Linked DNA regions of Homo sapiens: regions 1 and 2 are each linked to region 3. The links are contacts of gene promoters, found by promoter capture Hi-C in blood cells and fetal thymus (Javierre and others, 2016). All regions are on one chromosome and are shown on one strand. The core of a region is centred on a gene start or on the middle of the fragment in contact, and the rest is flanking DNA. Distances in the headings are between cores, read along the strand shown.

The links. Contacts are between HindIII fragments. The CHiCAGO score rates a contact against its expected background, and 5 or more counts as called.
Region 1: a contact is called between a fragment that was not itself captured here and the fragment with the promoter of GCNA in region 3, in 2 of 17 cell types (activated CD4 T cells and naive CD8 T cells). The highest score is 7.1, in activated CD4 T cells.
Region 2: a contact is called between a fragment that was not itself captured here and the fragment with the promoter of GCNA in region 3, in 9 of 17 cell types (activated CD4 T cells, non-activated CD4 T cells, total CD8 T cells and 6 more). The highest score is 8.5, in activated CD4 T cells.

The regions. Positions count from the first base shown.
Region 1 is chrX:71,477,808-71,480,722 of GRCh38, reverse strand. It overlaps a transcript of TAF1 not described here. Among named protein-coding and RNA genes, the nearest start is that of OGT, 54 kb to the left of the region's middle. The HindIII fragment of the contact is 6,178 bases long and covers 1-2,915 here.
Region 2 is chrX:71,460,831-71,463,798 of GRCh38, reverse strand. All of the region lies in intron 37 of TAF1 (TATA-box binding protein associated factor 1), which reads right to left. Among named protein-coding and RNA genes, the nearest start is that of OGT, 71 kb to the left of the region's middle. The HindIII fragment of the contact is 3,288 bases long and covers 1-2,968 here.
Region 3 is chrX:71,576,645-71,579,953 of GRCh38, reverse strand. GCNA (germ cell nuclear acidic peptidase) reads right to left here and starts at 1,517. Exons shown (of 13, transcript NM_052957.5): 1 at 1,432-1,517. RefSeq lists an enhancer at 669-1,310. The HindIII fragment of the contact is 6,206 bases long and covers 1-3,309 here.

The DNA.
Region 1 (2,915 bases), core at 368-2,867, 99 kb after region 3:
TCTTTATACCATTATATTACTTTAGTGTTCTTTATAGTACTTATCACCACCTCACAGATATTTATTGCCTCTCTCCACCTCCATGAAAGGACTTTTGTTCAATGCTGTATTTCCAGCACTTAGATTAATCTTGGTACGTAGTATTCACTTAATAAATATTTATTGAATGAATATATGAATTATTTCTGGCTTTTAGAAGAATGGGTAACTACATAATTGAATAAATATATCTCTGTACCCCAAGGCCCAGCATACTACCGGGTACATAGTGGGAATTCAATAAATGTTTGTTGAATGAATCAAGGCTGTAAACATGCTCATAAGTCTTTCTCTTTTTTTAAGAGACAGGATCCATGGTGGGGTGCAGTGGTGCGATCATAGCCCACTGCAACCTCAAACTCCTGGGCTCAAGGGATCCTCTTGCCTCAGCCTCCCGAGTAGCTGGGACTACAGGTATATGCCACCATGTCTGGCTAGTTTTGTTTTTGGTTTTGTTTTTTGAGACAGTCTCAGTCTGTTGCCCAGGCTGGAGTGCAGTGATACAGTCATGGTTCACTGCAGCCTCAAACTCCTGGGCTCAAGTGATCCTCCCACATCAGCCTCCCAAGTAGCTAGGACTGCAGGTGCACACCACCATGCCCAGATAATTTTTTGATTTTTCACAGAGACATGGTCTCGCTATGTTGCCCAGGCTGGTCTAAAATTCCTGGGCTCAAGAGATCCTCCCACCTGGGCCTCCCAAAGTGCTGGGATTACAGGCATGAGCCACCACAGCCGGCCTCATAGGTCTTTTAAAAATTTTCTGGTTATCCCATTTCTCCCTTTAGCTATTACTATCATTCTCCTTCCCCTGATAGCCTAGCTGCTTTCTCACCTTCCAGTCACTTTTTTTTCAGCTTAAAAACTTTTATGAAATATATCACAAATACAAAAGTATATCTGACATTTATGGTAGATAAAAATCTCATATATAATTTAAAGAATAAGAAAATGAACATCTAAGTGCCCACCAATCAGCTTACAAACCAGAACATTACCAGAGCCTCTGAAGCTCTCTGGATACCCTTCTGAATTGCATTCCTTTCCTTCCCTGCAAGATATAACTGCTATTAGGAATTGTACTTTTTTTTCTTTTTGTTTATTTATTTTTTGAGACAGAGTCTCACTCCATCACCCAGACTGGAGTGGAGTGGCGTGATCTCAGTTCACTGCAACCTCCACCTCCCGGGTTCAAGAGATTCTCCTGTCTCAGCCTCCCAAGTAGCTAGGACTGCAGGCATGCGCCACCACGCCCGGCTAATTTTTGTATTTTTAGTAGCAATTGGGCTTTGCCATATTGCCCAGGCTGATCTTGAACTCCTGGCCTCAAGTGATCCTCCTGCCTTGGCCTTCCAAAGTGCTGGGATTACAGGCATGAGCCATCATGTCTGGCCAGTAATTATACTTTTCTTTATGGCTTTCTCACCCGTGTTTTTGAACCTTATATACATAGAATCATATCATATGAATTTTTCTGAACTTTCCTTCCACATTATGTTCGTGGGACTCATCTATGTTGATATTTGTATCTGTAGGTATTTTTACCAATGTATAGTTTTCCCTTTTATAATAATACCATAATTTACTAAACCATTCTCTTATTGAAGAACATTTGAGCTATTTTCAACTTTTTGCTATAAAGATCAGTGCAGCTATTAACACTCTTGAATTCTTGTACATGTCTTCTGGTACGGTGGTGCAAGAATTTTTCTAGCATATATACCTAGGGGTAGAATTGCTGATTAAGTCAGCTAGGTGCAGTGGCTCACGCCTGTAATCCCAGCACTTTGGGAGGCCAAGGCGGGCGGATCACCTGAGGTCAGGAGTTCAAGACCAGCCTGGCCAACATTTTCACGTTTATTGGCTATTCCTGTTTTCTCTTCTGTGAAATGCTGCTTTATGTTTTTTGGTCAGTTTTCATTGGATGGCTTGTCTTTTTCTTACCGATATATTGTCTTACATATTTTTTTTCAGAATTTAAAAAGAATTTTTGCTAAAGATAGACCTCCCTATGTTACCCAGTCTGGTCTCAAACTCGTGGACTCAAGCAATCCTCCCATCTCTGCCTGTCAAAGTTCTGGGATGCTGAGATTACAGGTGTGAGCCATCGCACTTGGCCAGGATTCTCTTGTTTTTGTTTGTTTGTTTGTTTGTTTGTTTGAGACAAGGTCTTGCTCTATCACCTAGGCTGGAGGAGTGCAGTGGTATGATCATAGCTCACTGCAGCCTCGAACTCCTGGGCTCAAGTGATCCTCCTACCTCGGCCCCCAAAGCATTGAGATTACAGGCATGAGCCACCGCAGTTGGCCAGGATAGTTATTCTTTTTTTGAGAAGGGGGTTCACTCTTGTTGCCCAGGCTGGAGTGCAGTGGCGTGATCTTGGCTCACTGCAACCTCCACCTCCCGAATTCAAGCAATTCTCCTGCCTCAGCCTCCCAAGTAGCTGGGATTACAGGCACCCACCACCACGCCCAGCTAATTTTTTTGTATTTTTTGTAGAGATAGGGTTTCACCATGTTGGCTGGGCTAGTCTCGAACTCCTGACCTCAGGTGATCTGCCGGCCTCAGCCACCATGCCTGGCCCAGGATAGTTATTCTTTATCAGTTATATGAATTGGAAACATCTTCTGCCAGCCCATCACCTTTTAAAATGATGTCTTATGATGAACAAAAGTTTATTTATTTATTTAGAAACAGAGTCTTGCTCTATCACCCAGGCTGGAGGGCAATGGTGTGATCTCGGCTCACTGCAGCCTTTGCCTCCTGCGCTCAAGTGAGTCTCCTGCCTTAGCCTCCCGAGAAGCTGGGATTACATGTATGTGCTACCATGCCCAGCTAATTTTTGTATTTTTAGTAGAGATGGGGTTTCACCATGT
Region 2 (2,968 bases), core at 321-2,820, 120 kb after region 3:
CAAGCTCGGACACCATCCTCTACCTGACCATTCCCATTCTCAGTGCCACCAAAGGATCAGCCCATCTCACCTCCCCTGGACACTAAAGTGACTGGTTCTGGACTATTCTACATGTCCCTGAGAGAAAAATGACCCTGTTCAAAAACATCAACTTGCCAACGTCATATACACAAGAACCTGAATGGAAGAAACTCCCTTACACCTGAACAACACACTGCCATCTTACATGACCATAAATGCTCTGACAGCCTCATGGTTTCATCTACCACTTACAGTATCCAATTAGTCAATAGTCCTGAAGATTCTCTCTTCAATATATCTTGTCTCTATCCCCTCCTTTCCATCCCTACTCTGCCTACCTTGGCTTAGTCCTTTGTTATCTCTGGCCTGCACTACTGAAATAAGTCGTCATGCCGCCAGTCTTGCTCTCCTCCAATTACTTCTTCACACTTCTGCCAGAGTGCTCTTTATTTTTTTGTTTGTTTGTTTATTCTTAATTTTACTTGAAAAAAAAATCACACAAGTAATGCACGTTCACTGGTTAAAAAAATTAGAATATACACCAGAAAAAAATTTAAAAAAATCAATAACTCCATCATCCAGAGATAATCTTTTGGTATATTACCTTCCAAAATTTTTTGTGAACTTTAGATGCTTAAACATTTTTTTTAATTTACAAAATTGGGATACTCTACATACTCTCCAGGAAATCTGCCCTCTTCACTAATGATTATAATGAACATCTTTCCATGTCAATAAACATAACGTCTATAGCATAATTTTAATAGCTACATGGTATTCCACACATGGCTGTAACATGACTTAACAGTCTCTCACTAGGACATTTAAGCTGTCTCCAATTATTCCACTATTAGAAACAATGCTGTCATAAAACATCCTTACACAAACATCTTGATGGTGTGTTAATTATTCCCATAAAATAATTTCCTAGATGTGGATTTTTTGGGCCAAAGGGGATGCACGTTTTTAAATGTTTTTATTTATGATGATAAATAAATAAGCCTCTCTCCAAACCACCCCATTTCTATCAATCGACATTACCACCAGTAGTTTGAGAATGTCTTTTTCCTCATAGCCTTTCCAAACACTAGGCATTATCATTCACTTTAATCACCAATATGATAGGTAAAAAAATTGCACTTCGTGGTTTTACTGCGTTTATTAGGGGAGTTACTATTATTGTTGTTATTATTTTTATTATCATTTTGAGACTGAGTCTTGCTCTGTCACCAGGCTGGAGTACAGTGGCACGATCTCGGCTCACTGCAACCTCTGCCTCCTGGGTTCAAGCGATTCTCCTGCCTCAGCCTCCTGAGTAGCTGGGACTACAGGTGTGACCAGGCCCAGCTAATTTTTGTATTTTTAGTAGAGACAGGGTTTCACCATGTTGGCCAGGATGGTCTAGATCTCTTGACCTTGTGATCTGCCTGCCTCGGCCTCCCAAAGTGCTGGGATTTTAGGCATGAGCCACCGCGCCCGGCTGGAAGTTATTTTTTCATATGATATATTGGCCATTTACATTTCTTTTGTAAATTAGTTCATGCCTTTGCCCATTTTTCTTTTGGGGCACAGGACAATCTTTCTAAAATGTAAATCTGGTCATACTATTCTCATTCAATGACCGCCCAGAACTTTCAGGCCCTTCATGATTTGGTATTTACCTACCTCTTTAAGTCATTTCTATCACATGAATTATAGATCTTACATGGATCAATCAAAAAATCTCCAGTCACACTGAGCTACGTGTGTTCTCTGAAAGCGTTTCATGCCTGTGAAGTGTTTCATGCCTGTGTCTTCATATAGGCTCTTCCTAGTCTCTGGAATGCCCATTGCTTTCTTATTCGTTTAGCTAATTCCTATTCATATTAGGCTCAATTTCCTTCTCTAGCCAGCTCTCCTCCCTCCCCACCTCTACCCAAGTCCTAGAAAAACCCTGCGGTTGCCTAGCATAGCACTTTTCATATTACACTATGATTGCCTGTTTTACCTGTTTTAGGTTTCCTACTAGACTGATCTCCTTGAAGGAAGGGACCATATCTTAGTTGTTTTTGTACTTATGATAAATATTTGCTGAAGTAAAAAATTAATTTGTTTACAATGTTATTGCATATTATCTGCTTGCTGGTTAGATGTATCATAGATACATTAAATTTAACTTGTCCAAAGCCAAATCCAAATCCATTTTTTCCTCCTTTCCTGCCCCATCTAATATGTATTCTTCCTCTTTCCTCTACCAGACATCTCCATTCATTATTCATCTAACCTCCTTACCTCTTTATGTCCCTTTATTTTCCCCACTCCTGACAAGTCCCTGTTGATATCCTCATCATGTGTCCCACATTGTCCTAAGTTATACAAATTTGATGTTACTTCCTTTTCCTTAAACTGATGACTCCTATTACCCGCAGGTTAAGGTCCAAAGGTCTTAGCATGCCTTTTAAAGTCCTTCACAATATAATCCCCCTTGCTACACTTCTGGAGCCTCAACTCCCCAACAACTTCCATTTGCTCTGGAACATACTTTGTGTTCTACTTCTGTGTCTTTGAACACATTGTTCCACCTATAAAGTTCTCCCCACCCCCTGCCATAGTACCTACTTAGTAAACTCCTATTAATCTTTTAAGGCCCAATTCAAATGTTCCCTTGTCTGTGAAACTTTCCCTGATAACTCCAAGCAGACTGAGACACTCCCTTCTCAGTGGTGCTTTGGCACTTTGTCTTACTTACGCTATAGCACTTATCACATTGTATTTGTAATGATTTGTTTGTGTCAGTCTTTTCCACTAGGCTGTGGGCTCCTCAAGGGCAGGATATGTTTTGCTCCTCTGTGTATCCCCAGAGCCTAGCACAGTGCCTGGCCCTAGTAGGTGCCCAGGAAATGTTTGATGGATGAAAAGTAATCTGATGTTGGGCCCCTCAACATCATAGCTGGGCACTGATGCCACA
Region 3 (3,309 bases), core at 268-2,767:
GCCACCCCCTCCACGCTTCCTATTCCTGCCTCCAGCCTCTAGCCAATCTTCGACCAAACAGGCCTTGACCCCTCCCCAACTCCTTCCTCCTATCAGGTCTGGACCCTACCCCCACCATTCTCACCTCAGTCTTCCACCAATCAGGCCTCAACCCCACCACCCTTCCCCCACACTCGCACCTCCAACCACCTCCAGCCACCTTCAACTGCTCCCAACCGGTTTTCCAAGCAGGCTTCCACTCCCCCACACTTCTATCCAACTTCTGCCCTACCCCACTCCTGTCTCCCACCACCACTCAGTCCTCAGCCAAAGAGACCTCAACCCCCACACACACACCCCTACCCACAACCACTAGCTCCCACCTCCCCCCAATGCTGCAACGGGCACCCCCACTTCTCCCCACAGCCACTGGCACCCCCACCTCCAATGCCACCACCAGCATCCTCACTTCTCCCCACGCCCACCAGCACCACCACGTGCTCCTAGGCCACTTCCACCACCACCAAGTGTTCCTACGCCGCCACCAGAACCCCCCACTTCCCTCAACGCCCCCATTGGCACCCCCACCTTCAATGCGGCCACCGGCGCCTCCACTTCTCCCCACACCGCCAGCGCTACTATGTGCTCCTATGCCACCAACGCCACCAAGTACTCCTAGGCCGCAACTGGCACCCCCACCTCCCCCCACGCTGCCACTGGCATCCCTACTTCTCCCCACCCGCCACTAGGGACACCACCTGTTCCTACACCACCACTGGGGCCCCCACCTCCCCCCAGTGCCGCAACCAGCGCCCTCACTTCTCCCCGCGCCGCCACCGGCGCCACGTATTCCTACATAGCCACTGGCGCCACCACACGCTCCTACGCCACCACCAGCGCTCCCACTTCCCCCAAGGCCGCCAATGGTGCCCCTACTTCTCCCCACACCGTCACTGGTGCTACCACATGCTCCTACACCACCACCAGCACCCCCACTTCCCCGACACTGCCACAGGCACCCCCACTTCCCCCAACGCCGCCACTGGTGCCCCTACTTCTCTCCACCCGCCACTGGCACCAACACCTCCTTCTACGCCACCACCAGGCCCCCCACTATCTGCAATGACGCCACCAGCGCCCCTTCTCCCCACGCCGCCACTGGCACTACCAGCTGCTCCTACGCCGCCACCGGCGCCCCCACCCCTCCCAATGCCGCCACTGGCGCCACCATATGTTTCCTACACCACCATGGGCGCCCCCACCTCCCCCAATGCTACCACTGGCGCCTCCACTTCTCCCCTCGCTGCCACTTCCTCTACTCCCACCTCAGGCCTACACGGGCAACCAGAGTCCAAGGTATACAGTGGTCCTGATTTTAATTAAGTCACTCAATTAGGATTAACCTCTGGACCACTTCAGCACCCATCTCAGTCCGACCAGCCGGTCACCTACCTGGTGTTGCAGCCTCTGGCGTGGCCGGCAGCAGCTCACCTCCAACTGCCCGTGGAGTGTGTGCAAAGATCCGGAGCAACTGCGATGAACAACGCCAGGCGCAGGCCCCTTTATAGTGCCCGGACCTAGGGGGCGGTAGCAGTAATTCACGTGTGCTCGCCCGCGCTCCCCTGTACCCACCTATCACAGTGGTCACAAGACAAATTTGAACTTCGCGCCTGTGAACTTGGCGCCTAGCTGTAACGCTTCCGGGATCAGGTCTGTCGCTTTCCACTCCCACGGATGTTGCTTATTTGTCCCAAAACCGCCATTTCAATACTAGAGCGTGGGCACCCGAGGCCAATTCTGCGATTAAAAGTCCCTAACAACTTTCTGATAAAGAGAAACCATGTGAAATCGTTCATAACAAACTTTTATCCTGCGAGAACTTGGATAAGCGAGCCTTGTTCCTTACTTGAATTGTCCAGACCTCTAAGTCCGTTATTGCAACCACTGGGAAAGGGCGCGGGGGGAGGGGCGGGGGCACGAGAACTGGAGCGAAGGCGCGGGAGCAGGGGCGTGGACGGGAACACCGAGGGGAGGGCGGGGCGCGGGGGGACGCGGGAGCGCAGGGGGGCGGGGGTTGCAGGGAAGGCCATCTAGACCCCTAGATAAGAGCAAGGCAGCAACTCAACAGCGCCTGGCAACGGCGAACTATGATGTTTACTTCCAGAACCCTCCAAACCCTGGAGATAAAAAAAGGTTACTTGAGGCTTTTTGGCACTCACTCCATACACACCAAGAAAAACAAACGGGGAAAACAGCGCTTTCTAGATTGTGCCAGTTTCTCCAGCGAGCATCTATATATTTCGTAATGTATGCCTTTGGGTAACAGAACACACATAAAATGTCCCTGCGTTTGATACTATTTTGTGCTAAGCATTATTCCAAGTGTCTTACGACTTAATTCATACAACACTTTAAAAAGTAGGCAACTGTTAGCACTCTCATTTTAGAGATCACACAGCTAGAAAGTGGCAGAGCTGGCCGGGCACAGTGGCTCACGCCTGTAACCCCAGCACTTTGGGAGGCTGAGGCGGGTGGATCACGAAGTCAGGAGCTTGAGACCAGCCTGGTCAACATGGTGAAACCCCGTCTCTACTAAAGATAAAAAAAAAAAAATAGCCGCGTGTGGTGGCCCGCGCCTGTAATCCCAGCTACTCGGGAGGCTGAGGCAGGAGAATCGCTGGAACCTGGGAGGCGGAGGTTGCAGTGAGCCGAGATCGTGCCATTGCACTCCAGCATGGGGACAGGGCGAGACTCCATCTCAAAAAAAAAAAAAAAAGTGGCAGAGCTGAGATTCAAACTCCAACTCTAGTTCCAAAACCTGCTCTTAAGCACCAGATTGCCTACCTAAATACAGATACTTTCTCAGTTGATAAAAAAATTGGATAAAGGGGGCTGATTACTCTCTCTCTCTACAATGAAGTTGCAAATTAACCTCTACAAGCCTCTTTATAAGAATGGGGATTACATAACTGTGCCTCAGAGGCTTGGGCAAAGAACCAGGATGTTAGCTATAATTGAGAGGCATATGCTTCAAGTAAAAGAATGGGATAGGTTTGGAATCAAATCTTAAAATGGGCAGTTCAGAAATTACACACATTTACTCAAGGTGTGCAAGCAACTCCTTTAGATTGAAGGCAGGAGGAGCTGAAGTAGACTGGAAATAATGTAGATTTTTCAAGAGAAGCGAATGGGAGTAAAAACTTTTGAGTAGGCTTTCTTCCCATAATAATCTTTTAGGAAACAAACACCAATCCACATGAGGGCTTTAAGAAGTTGGGAATTAAATCATGCAAAATTTTACTGAAAAAAATCTTCCCTCTCATATCTGAG